Linked DNA regions of Homo sapiens: all the other regions are linked to region 1. Evidence: promoter capture Hi-C in 16 types of primary human blood cells and fetal thymus (Javierre and others, 2016). All regions are on one chromosome and are shown on one strand. Each heading gives the region's core, a stretch centred on a gene start or on the middle of the fragment in contact. The rest is flanking DNA. Distances are from core to core; before and after follow the strand shown.

Region 1 (2,804 bases), core at 151-2,650:
ATAACCCCAACTCTTTCAATTCAATGCATTTCCTCCTAAGTGAAACCTACATGCCTCTCAATGTAAAATGGAGGCCAACATATACCTGCCAAGTGCTGAAGAATGTAGGTCTTAAAATAGACTATAGCCTTGTTTCAGGGATCTCTCACTTGGTTTTATTGGTATGGGCTAAACAGGGCTTCCGTTTCATAAATGAAAGTCTCCAGTAACATGAATGAAAGGCTCCAGGGCAGAATCTCAGAGGGTTTCTATGAGTATCACTTGGAACCAAGCACAGGCAACTGCACATCCCTGTTTGGGTTTGGAATTGGAGATGGTGGGTTTGGGATGTGGTTACTCTTGTTTGGAATACATTCTCCTCCTCTTAACAGGTTGATTCTTCCTTTGGAGGTCTGCTTAACCTTCCCTGATTACCCTGTCAGTTCCATTGTACATACCCTTCCAGAGCATCACTTACCTATCCTTAGTGTGATTCTTTGAGTAACATGTGTCTCCCCCAGCAAACTCCACGGCAGGACTGGTCAGTTTTTGCTCACCACACCATCCCAGTGCCTAGCCCAGTGCCTGGAACTTAGTGTTCAATAGGTACTAGTAAAAATGAATGCGTGATAGCAGTCTATGAAGTGCTAGCTATAAAATGAACACGTGATAGGAGTCTATGAAGTGCTAGGTATAAAATAATGCGTGATAGGAGTCTATGAAGTGCTAGGTATAAAATAATATGTGATAGGAGTCTATGAAGTGCCAGGTATAAAATAATGCCTGACAGGAGTCTATGAAGTGCTAGGTATAAAATAATGTGTGATAGGAGTCTATGAAGTGCTAGGTATGCCCATGACATCCACATGACAATTCACCCAGAGGTATTTTTATATCCCTGTCGCTGATGAAAAAGCAGAGGTGTGGCTCCTCGGTGGAGGGCTCTGATTCCAAACTCTTGAGCCTCCCAACCACTGTCCTCCGGGTAAGAAACCGTATAATAGTATTCTGGGTACAAAATACGCACACAAATTGGCCAGAAAGCCATAATCCCCCACAGTCACATTCTCTTGAAGATCCCCTTGCCTTCCCCTTGCCCTGTGAACAAGGAGAGGCTCAGAATCCAGGGGGCGTCCGGCAGGGCTCCTCCCTCAGACCAGCGCAGCCCTCGGGGCGCTCAGAGCCCTGCCCTCCCTCCACTTCCCCTCGGGGTGGCTACCTCAGGCTCGCTCCCAAACCGGCTGTCTGGCTTCAGGCGACACCTGGCGCCTGGCCTCAGGCGAGAGGTGTGGGGAGAGACCGAGTGCCTCCCACCCTTCTTAAGAAGGAGAGCAGTAGAACCTCGGCGGGGAGGGCAGCAGCGGCCGGGGGTGACAGCAGCGGCGGGGCACGACCGCCGTTAGCGTTAGACGTTAGCGCTCCGCCTTCGCCTGGCAAACCCTGCGCGGGCTCCGCTGCCAGGTCACCAGGGGTAGCGCCGGGCGCGACGTCACAGAGCCGCCCCGCCTCTCCTGCAGCGGCGGGTTCCCAGGGTCCCGCTAGGGCGCTGCTAGGGGACGCTGAAAGCTGTTTTGGGCTTTGCTGGTGGTGGAAGGACCAGACGGCCTGGAGGGTTAAGGACTGGGCTGGGGACGTTAGGAAACCCGGGCTGGGGGCGTTGGGGGTGGGGCGGAATGTGTAGCCATTGACGGTGCGCTTTTGTAGGTGAGAGGGCAGAAGTGGAGCTTGATCTTTCGGCTTGTGGAAAGTGGACAGGTGAGAATTCCTCAGGAATCATAGTAACAACACTTCTTACAATGAGTTTTTGGTGCCAGGAATTGTTCTAAGTGCATTACACACATGAACTCATTTCATCCTTACTGTCACCCCATGAGGCAAGTACTATTGTTATCCCCATTTTTACAGATGAGGGAACTGAGCACAGAGAGGTTAAACTTGTCCAAGATGACAGTCAGCAAGTGACAGAGTCAGGATCTGAATCTGGGTTGCGTGGTCCCAGATTCCTCACTCTTGACCTTATAATGCTAAGAAAGGGGCATGGAGTGGATAGGAACAGAGCCTGAGATGCCTGGGGACAACAGGGAAAGATAGAAAATATTTATAGGGTAGAATGTGGTCACTGTGCCAGGGCACTTTTACAAACATGATGACATCAAAGTTTCACAGTAAACTCTGAAGGTAGGTATTACCTTCGCTTTGGAAATAAAAAACAGGCTCAAGGCTTCGAGTAATTTTGCCTGTGATCGAACAGCTGGCAGTAGGGCTCAGGGCCCAACTTTACTCCAGGTCTTCCGGTTTCAAGACTGTGTGTGTGTGTGTGTGTGTGTGTGTGTGTGTGTGTGTGTGTGTGTGTGTGTTTTGAGACAGGGTCTTGCTCTGTTGCCCAGGCTGGAGTGCAATGGGGTAATCATGACTCACTGCAGCCTCAATCTCCTAGGTCTAAGCAATCCTCCCACCTCAGCCTCCCAAGTAGCTGAGACTGCAGGTGCTTGCCACGATGACAGGCTAATTTTTATATTTTTATAAACGGGGTTTTGCCATGTTGCCCAGGCTGGTCTTGAATCCCTGGGCTCAAGTGATCCACCTGCCTTGGTCTCCCAAAGTATTGGGATTACAGGTTTGAGCTACCGCACCTGGTCTCAAGACTGTTCGTTTTAAGCACCCAAGGAGGCAAGAAAAGCCCCATCTTTCTCTGCTACATCCCGTGTCACTTCACACCTATTTTAAAGGGGCCCATTGCATCATCTAATCCTTCATTCCATTTATACAACAGTGTGTATTAGTCTAAATAGATTAGTTCACCCAGGCCCTTCAAAGCTTTCTCT
Region 2 (2,804 bases), core at 227-2,726, 560 kb after region 1:
ATCCAAGAGGGACAAGGATACTAGCCATCTCTCCATTCTACATTTAAGCCTTCACTGAATTTCATTTTTCAGGAAAGTGCGCATAGGATAGAAGAGGGATCTAGGAGTCCCATCTTCCTGTTTTAGCCCCACCTGTAGGTCCATCCTCAGTGCCGTCTGGTGCTTCCACTCCCTGGGGCTGTCTGAGGGTTGAGCAGAGATAACTGGCAGGAGCTTGAATCTCATCTTCTCATTCTACCAAGTCAGTATCATTCTTGCATCTGCTTTCTATCATTAAAGAAAAAAAAAAGTTCTCAGCCCGGCGCAGTGGCTCACGCCTGTAATCCCAGCACTTTGCGAGTCCGAGGTGGGCGGATCACGAGGTCAGGAGAATGGCGTGCACCCGGAAGGCAGAGCTTGCAGTGAGCGGAGATCGCACCACTGCACTCCAGCCTGGGTGACAGAGCGAGACTCTGTCCCAAAATAAATAAATAAATAAATAAATAAATAAATAAATAAATAAATAAATAAAGTTATCTTGTTTACTACCTCCCATTCTCTTTGTTCTTGTGGATTTGTGTCTCCCCCCACTAACACCTTATGTTGTTTTTGTCAGGTTTAGGAATTCATGGAGATATAGTCACATGATTAAAGGGCAAGATAAATTTGGTTGAAAGGGGCTGAGAAAAAAAAATTAACAGTTATCTGTAAGATACTAATAGGAATAGGTGGGCAGCCAATGGGAGACACCTCTCAGACATTGTAACTAGGCATCTCAGTTATATATCAGGCAATAATTCATGGAATTTATTCACTCGCGCATTCAACAGATATTTATCACCTGCTGTGTGCCAGGCATTGCTCTAAACTCGGGAGATAGGACCATGAGCAAGACGGAATGCTCTGCTCTTCTGTATCTTACATAGGATAAGAGTAACACATAATTTATGTAAACAAGGCAACACATTAATGATAAGTGCTCAAGAAAATTCAGTAGCACTGTGTGTTAGAGATTCAATATAGAAACTACTCTATTTATCAAATATTAAAACTGGAAGCAGCCCTGGAGTCCAATTTCCTCATCTTAAAAATGAGGAAATTTAGGTATGAAGAAGGGAAGGGGTTTGCTGAGTGTCATACATGGGTAAAACCTGCACCAGCACCAAGGCCTCCTGATTCCCACTCCTGCATTCTTCCCACTATTAATTACTATGCAATTCACAAGACCTGCAAGACCAGGGGACCATGGTGCTCATTTACACACCATGGGAAACAACTAAACCAAACAGCTCCTTCAGTTGCAGTTAGTAGAAGCCACAGTTCCAGCAAGCAAAGATAAAGTAAATTGTAAGCTTTAGCCTCTTAATTGGACCTGGCAGCTCCATGGGCTTCCAACATACAAACTGATGAAATCCCAGAGCTCCACGACAATGTTCCTAAATGCCCAGACATTGCTTTACACATTTGCTAAAAAAAAAATTATAATCAATTCAAGATAAAAGCACAGCACTAAGCTCTTTTAATGGAACCTAGTTTCTGGAGAAGCCTTCAGAGTTTTATAGTAGGGCGAGGACAGAAGTTTAGTAGAGGAAGGATTTGAAGCAGCTATACTAAAGCATCATCAGCAATTTGGGGCTTTCCTGAAGCTTCTATAGTGGCCCTAGAGCAAAATTGGAAACTGTCTATCCGCTCCCCCATTTCTCCCCTCAAAGTGTTACACCTCCTTGAAATATTTGCATTTTTCCCCATTACCTTTGTTGATTTGTTTTAGAGATTGTTATTGTTGATGTTATCATTACTTTCATTATAAAGCAGCACTTATGTGAGAAACACTGGGCAATACTGGAGATCAGAAAGCCAGAGGGAAAATTACCCAGAGTGCACCACCCAACAATACCAGTGTTAACATTTCAACGAATTTTCCTTCTGTTTCCTATGAATAGGGTTGCTAAGTTGTTGATGATGTTCACACAGTTATATATACAACTGTACGTCTTGTCCTCTTAAAAAATTTTTTACTTTATATAAGTATTTAAGCTATTACAAAGCTTTATAAATAATCTAATGGCTGCATAATTAATTACTCACTTAGTAGATATATCATAATTATTTAACCATTCCCTTCCTGTTAGGTTTTTTAAGTAATTTCAACTTCCATGTTAGATTCAAGGGTTACACATGCAGTTTTGTCACCTAGGTATATTGTGTGATGCTGAGGTTTTGGGTACAAATGATCCCGTCACCTAGATAGTGAGCATAGTACCCAATAGGTAGCTTTTTAACCCTCATCCACTTCCCACTGGGTAGATTTTTATATTTTAGTATTGGGGCAGGGGGGCGGTGATGTTATTGTTGTAAAATTTTCTTCATTTGAAAAAATGCTATTATGAGCATTTTCATGCTTAAAGTACAGCTGCATGTCACTTGTGTGGTGCATCTCATCTTTTTGCATTTGGAAGGGAATCATAGTCTGGTTTGAGGTGTTTCATGTTAAGGGACATTACCTAATTAAATGAAATCACTTTCTGATGGAGGAATTCCAGGCATTAGCAGCAGGTGCAGGGAGTGTTGAGGGGAGGAGAGAAAGACAGTTTTTGCACAGGAGTTGGCAGGACTTCACGGTGCCCTTGAAACTGTGCCAAGTAGATATGCTCCAGCTTTACATTTTTTGCCAGCCAGCTCTGGCCTCCTGTGAGGCTGTTCATATGTAGATGTTAATTCATGTGAACTTGGTGCCTAAGGCTGGCTAAGAGTTGTGGAGGAATCAGATGATCAGATGGAAGAAGTTGCAGGGCAGGCAGCCAGGGGAGGAAGAGGAGGTCGGA
Region 3 (2,804 bases), core at 96-2,595, 540 kb after region 1:
TAAAAAACAGTGCATGATTATATAGTAAATGAGGTGGATGGGGGGATATTTCCTATAAAGAAGTTTTTTTTTTTAAAACACTAGCAACTTGTAAACACCCTTGAATATATTAAAATATATAAAATGAAATAAATTTGGAAAAAGATTATGTACAGATATGCTCACAAAACTCAGTCATCATCAGTCACTCCAAGTGTTCCCTGTATTCACTTCTTACACCAATTTACAGCTTGTTTCTCATCTTTTCTTTTAGGCAGAGACTTTCTGGCTCTGCTTATACCAGCTATACTTAAGTTTTCCAAGAGTGCTACAGCACAACCTGATATGAAAACTTGCCCCTTCAGTCTGCTTCAATCTGTCTGGTCACTTGGGTTTCAGATCAGGAGTGTCACAGGCATTGCTGTCGGCTGAGCACTCATAATTAGCTCTCTGGTATTCCCCTCACTCTCTGTCTCCTTTGTCAATGAGATATGGTTTTTTGATCCAAGCTGCTTTTGAATTTTCTTTTCTCTTCTGATCAGAATAGAAAAACACAGAGATTAAAAAACATCTCCAACCTTTCCTTGTCTACCTTCATAAGACTCTGTCATCTAGATCAGGATCAGAAGGCTTGGCTGCATATAAAAGAAAAGCCCCAGGTGACACCGGCTTAAATAACAGAGAAGTTTATTTTTCTTTCACATAACAGATAACTGCAGGTAAGCGGTCCAGGACTGGTAAAGAAGATCCACAAAGTCCTCAGGCACCCGGCTCCTTCTAACTGATTCCTTCACCATTCCCAGGGTTTAGTCTAATTCTCATATCCTAGATGGATGGTGTTCCAGGGAGCAGGTTGGAAGGGAAGGGAAAATGTGCCATCCCCCATATTAAAAAGACCATTGCAACAAACACTAAGAGTTACATCCCATTGGCCAGAGTGTGATAATATGCCTGCAATAGCTGCAAGGGAACCAGGGAAATGTAGTCTTTTACTGGGTAACAATGTGTCTCCCCCAGCCACCCAAAATGAGTCTTCGTTACTAAGAAGTAAGGGCACGATGGACTCTGGGAGGCACTTGCAAGTCTTTGCCATCCATACTCTTTTTTTTTTTTTTTTTTTTTTGAGATGGAGTTTCACACTTGTCACCAAGGCTGGAGTGCAATGGTGCAATCTCAGCTCACTGCAACCTCTGCCTCCCAGGTTCAAGTGATTCGCCTGCCTCAGCCTCCTGAGTAGCTGGGATTACAGGCATGAGCCACCACGTCCGGCTAATTTTTGTATTTTTAGTAGAGATGGGGTTTTGCCATGTTGGCCAGGCTGGTCTTGAACTCCTGACCTCAGGTGATTCGCCTGCCTCAGCCTCCCAAAATGCTGGGATTATAGGCGTGAGCCACCATGTCCAGCCTCCATTCTATTTTGTATTACCAGAAAAATTGCTAGTAGCAATCCATTGTACATATCTAATTAGTTTCCTCCTCCACATTGTGTACTTACTTTGTACAGAAAAAGATGTTACTTTATTTGTGCAGAAGAGTATTAATGTATAGCAAAGGTATCCTTGAGACTCATAACTCCTAACTTATTCCATATATCATAAAGAAGCGTTGTATTTTTCCTTCTTAACATTTAAAATATATTTTAAGACAGATCAATTTTTAAAGAGTTATGAGACATTTTCCTCAAAATTGATGATGCCACAATGAAAAGCCCAAAGTTATAAACCAGTAAAAGGCATTTAAAATATACACTCTACACTTATTTCTGAAAGGACTTGAGAAAGTTCAATTAAAACACTAAAAAAGATGTGAAATTTAAAAAGTAAACATAAGAGAATCCACATCTTCATGCAGGGGATGTAGAAGTTTCAAATTTATGATGAGGCGAAGTACAGCACTTTCCATGTACTTCAGCAAACTCCAGTTGACAATAATTGAAAACCTACTCCATAAGAGAATTTTTTTTTAAGATAGAGTCTCACTCTGTCACCCAGGCTGGAATGCAGTGGCACAATCTCGGCTCACTGCAACCTCCACCTCCCGGTTTCAGGCAATTCTCATGCCTCAGCCTCCTGAGTATATGGGACTACAGGCAGGTGCCACTACGCCCAGCTAATTTTTGTATTTTTAGTAGAGATGGGGTTTCACCATGTTGGCCAGGCTGGTCTTGAACTCCCGACCTAAGGTGATCCTCCTGCCTTGGCCTCCAAAAGTACTGGGATTACAGGTGTGAGCCACCATGCCTGGCCAAGAGAAATTTTTTAAAACCACGATACTTTCAATCCAGTGAAAGGTACAGGAATGTAGACAAATACCATCCAAGGCAAAAAATGTGCTGGAATAGAGATACAAATATCATTCTGCTAGAGTGAAAAGGTAGGGAGATGTTACTGGGAACTGCTGGTGGTGATGATGCAGACAGGAGCTGCTTATGGAGGCGATTCGTGAATGAGGTGGCCTTTGAACTGGCCTCGAGGATGGAAAAGGATTTCCAGAAGATGACAGAAGTGTGGTTTGGGAAAGGAAGGAAGGAACTATTCCAGGCTGAGAAAAACATCATAAATAAAAGTCAAGAAGTTGGGAAAATGTTGGCTCTGTCTGAGAATCAGCAAGCATAGGTGAGATTTGGCGTGCAGGATCTGTCTAGGTAGCAGATGAGTAGGAAAGACTGAGAGGTTGATCTGAGAAACCTTATGTGGTATGCTCAGGGATTTGGACCTGGTTCTCTGGGCAGTAGAGGAATAGGAGAAGAAGGAAGATGAGCATGCTCACATTCTATGACCTCTGTTTTCTCAGTAAGTAGTGAGCAAATCTTCTGTTCATGAGAT
Region 4 (2,804 bases), core at 163-2,662, 520 kb after region 1:
CATGAACACAGGCTTATGATTGCTACTGTGTGTTACCTGCAGCACACTGAGGTAGAAGTAGCTTTTCACAGAAAGAGCACAAACAGTAATTTGAATGATATGTTTTATGTATATATCTCTGGTTTGTGTATATTTATGAATTTGTGTGTGTGTTCCTCAGTGTGTTTCCCATATACTCTGTAAGAAGTATTCATCTATGTGGTTTGAGGGGCAAGAACTTGGATATTTTCCCTGGCCATTAGGCCAGTGACATAAACTAGTAAGTCGGGTCCTCCACAAGCTCATGACTGTCGCTGGCGCAATACAGGGCTTACCTGAGCTGTAGCCTGGAGTTATTTTTGCCCCCACTTCCTATTCTCTCTCAATATGAAAGACTAATTTTGCTTTTAAACATGAAGGGGGTGGCCAGGTGCGGTGGCTTACGCCTATAATCCCAACACTTTGGGAAGCTGAGGCGGGTGGATCATGAGGTCAGGAGTTTGAGACCAGCCTGGCCAACGTGGTGAAACCCTGCCACTACTGAAAATACAAAAAATTAGCCAGGCATGGTGGCACACGCCTGTAATCCCAGCTACTCAGGAGGCTGAGGCAGTAGAATTGCTGGAACCACAGAGGCAGAGGTTGCAGTGAGCTGAGATCACACCACTGCACTCCAGCCTGGGAAACAGAGCAAGTCTCTGTCTTGGAAAAATAAAAAATAAAAACAATTAAAAATTTAAAAAAAAACATGAAGGGGGAATATGTATGTGCACATGTGTGTTTGTATGTGTGTTTATGCATATGTACATACATACGTATGTGCATGTATGTATGCATATATGTATATATGAAGAAAATACACCAGAATGTAAATAATGGGTATTTCTGGGTGGTGTCTTTTTTAGTTTTTGTATTATGTCTTACAACATGACATAATAAATTTAACAAAAACCTAATAGATATTATTTTTTAAAGACCAGAAAGGAACAAGATTATCAGATAGTTGCTGGGGTCCACCCTCTGCATGAACCAAGGGTGAGGGACGAGCAGGTGCCTAGCAGAGAACAGGGTGATCCGCTCTCAGGACCTTGGGATTCAAGAAGGCAGTCAGACAGTGAATTCAGGCTGACTTGCAGGACTGGCAGAGGTTGTGAGCTGAAGAACTGGCAACTTTGTTTGGTTGTGAAGGTCAGGAGCCTTGGACTGTGAAAAGAAAGAGAAAGAAAATTCAGGGGGTAGGGGGCTGGGAGCAGGAAGGGGATAAGAAGTTCTTGAAGGTTTACCCCAAAACCCCGCAGTCTAGAGACCTGTGGAAAAGGTGAGGAAAAGCTTGAAATATAGCTTCAAATTCATGAGACATTTTCATGAAGAGATATGCAGTGGGAGAGAGAAGCAGACGTGTTTCCAGTTTGGTGTTTACTTTCTGTGATTCCAGAGGGAGGGGTTCCCAGAGTGACTCAGCATGGGGACACGGGGACCCAGGTCAGGAGGACACAGAGAGCGCCCACTAGGGAAAGCGTTTGCCACTGTGTGAGCAGCAAGCTTTTAAACAGGAGGTGGGTCAAGACAGCTCCCCCGAACCCATTACCCTCTCTTCCCTCCTCTCCCACAGTCTAAGGACAGAGGGAAGGTTTTCTGGTAAAGAAACTATTTCTAACCTTTCTAAATTGGAAACAAACAAAAAATGACATGAAACAAGTATTTTCCAGGATGTCTCTCCCACACTGCCTAGGTTCAGAGTTCTCTCAGAGGGTTCCCTGAGCAGAGGGAAAAATGGCAAGAGGAAAAACATAGATTGAATGTTGCTGGCTGTGGCTGATGTCTTTGCACTGGGGTGGGTGTGGCCAGCCTGTCACTCAGGAGGCAGCATAACAGGTGGGCATACCTCCGCACCACCTACGAGGCCTTCCTGCTCATCGCTGACCGCTCAGCCAGCCTGTCTTTATCAGTAACCTCCTTATAGAATTTGGGAAGAAGAGCCCTGGGGTCAACATGAGCAGCAAACACAAACATCTAGATTCAAAAGGAGACCCTTCAGGCAGAGTAGGATGCATGATAAAACAAATAAGAAGGTCGCAAAAATCAGTCCTTGAAAAGAGCTGACCTGAAAGTGTGTTTCATGGTATTAATTTATGTCTTCTCTCTATGCAGTATTTAATATTTTTGTTACTGTATATCTCAGTTTTTAATTCTGATGGCTGCATCAAGTGATATTTCCAGTCTGGGCTCTGGTTTGAAACCTGAGGTGGAGAAAGCCTTTTTAAAACCAGTTAATATAGTATTCACAGAGTTCCTCTGTAGGTAATGAAGGAACACAGAATACATAAAGTCCCTGCCAAGGACAGAATCCCCCACCCCATCTAATGGAAGAGATACAGGCTTTTCCCTAAAAGTCCCTGCCAAGGACAGAATTCCCCACCCGATCTAATGGAAGAGATACAGGCCTTTCCCTAAGAAGTCACTGCTATAATTGGGCAGGCAGAGAAAATCACAAAGGCTGCCTGCAAGCAAGCCATCCAGAGGTTAAGCAACTAACAGTAACCACTGCCTTTCTTACTGAACTCCTAATATGAGCCTGGCATTTTACATGTACTCTCTCCTGTCATTCCCACAACAATTCTTCAAGGTAAGTATCATTATCCTCATTTTGCAGATGAGGAAAACGTCACTCCAAGAGGTTGAATAATTTACCCAGGGTCACACAACCAGAAAGTGGCAGAGATGAGATTTGAACCCAGGTGTTTCTGATATCCATTATGCACACTGCCTTCCACTGGCCAAGTCCACTAAAGAAAACAATTGGATGATTCAGGCAAAAACACACA

What was found. Contacts are between HindIII fragments. The CHiCAGO score rates a contact against its expected background, and 5 or more counts as called.
Region 2: a fragment that was not itself captured here is called in contact with the fragment with the promoter of ROPN1 in region 1 in 2 of 17 cell types (endothelial precursors and M1 macrophages); the score reaches 5.7 in endothelial precursors.
Region 3: a fragment that was not itself captured here is called in contact with the fragment with the promoter of ROPN1 in region 1 in 1 of 17 cell types (M2 macrophages); the score reaches 5.6 in M2 macrophages.
Region 4: a contact is called between a fragment that was not itself captured here and the fragment with the promoter of ROPN1 in region 1, in 1 of 17 cell types (M1 macrophages). The highest score is 7.0, in M1 macrophages.

What each region holds. Positions count from the first base shown.
Region 1 is chr3:123,990,724-123,993,527 of GRCh38, forward strand. ROPN1 (rhophilin associated tail protein 1) reads right to left here and starts at 1,401. Exons shown (of 6, transcript NM_001317774.2): 1 at 1,199-1,401. RefSeq lists an enhancer at 1,173-1,689. The HindIII fragment of the contact is 3,137 bases long and covers 1-2,794 here.
Region 2 is chr3:124,554,955-124,557,758 of GRCh38, forward strand. The region is part of intron 33 of KALRN (kalirin RhoGEF kinase); the gene reads left to right. LOC105374076 (a long non-coding RNA gene) reads right to left here. Exons shown (of 4, transcript XR_001740872.2): 3 at 133-267. Among named protein-coding and RNA genes, the nearest start is that of UMPS, 170 kb to the right of the region's middle. RefSeq lists a silencer at 736-927. The HindIII fragment of the contact is 294 bases long and covers 1,330-1,623 here.
Region 3 is chr3:124,535,117-124,537,920 of GRCh38, forward strand. All of the region lies in intron 33 of KALRN (kalirin RhoGEF kinase), which reads left to right. Among named protein-coding and RNA genes, the nearest start is that of MIR6083, 160 kb to the left of the region's middle. The HindIII fragment of the contact is 5,865 bases long and covers 1-2,804 here.
Region 4 is chr3:124,511,967-124,514,770 of GRCh38, forward strand. The region is part of intron 33 of KALRN (kalirin RhoGEF kinase); the gene reads left to right. Among named protein-coding and RNA genes, the nearest start is that of MIR6083, 140 kb to the left of the region's middle. The HindIII fragment of the contact is 213 bases long and covers 1,307-1,519 here.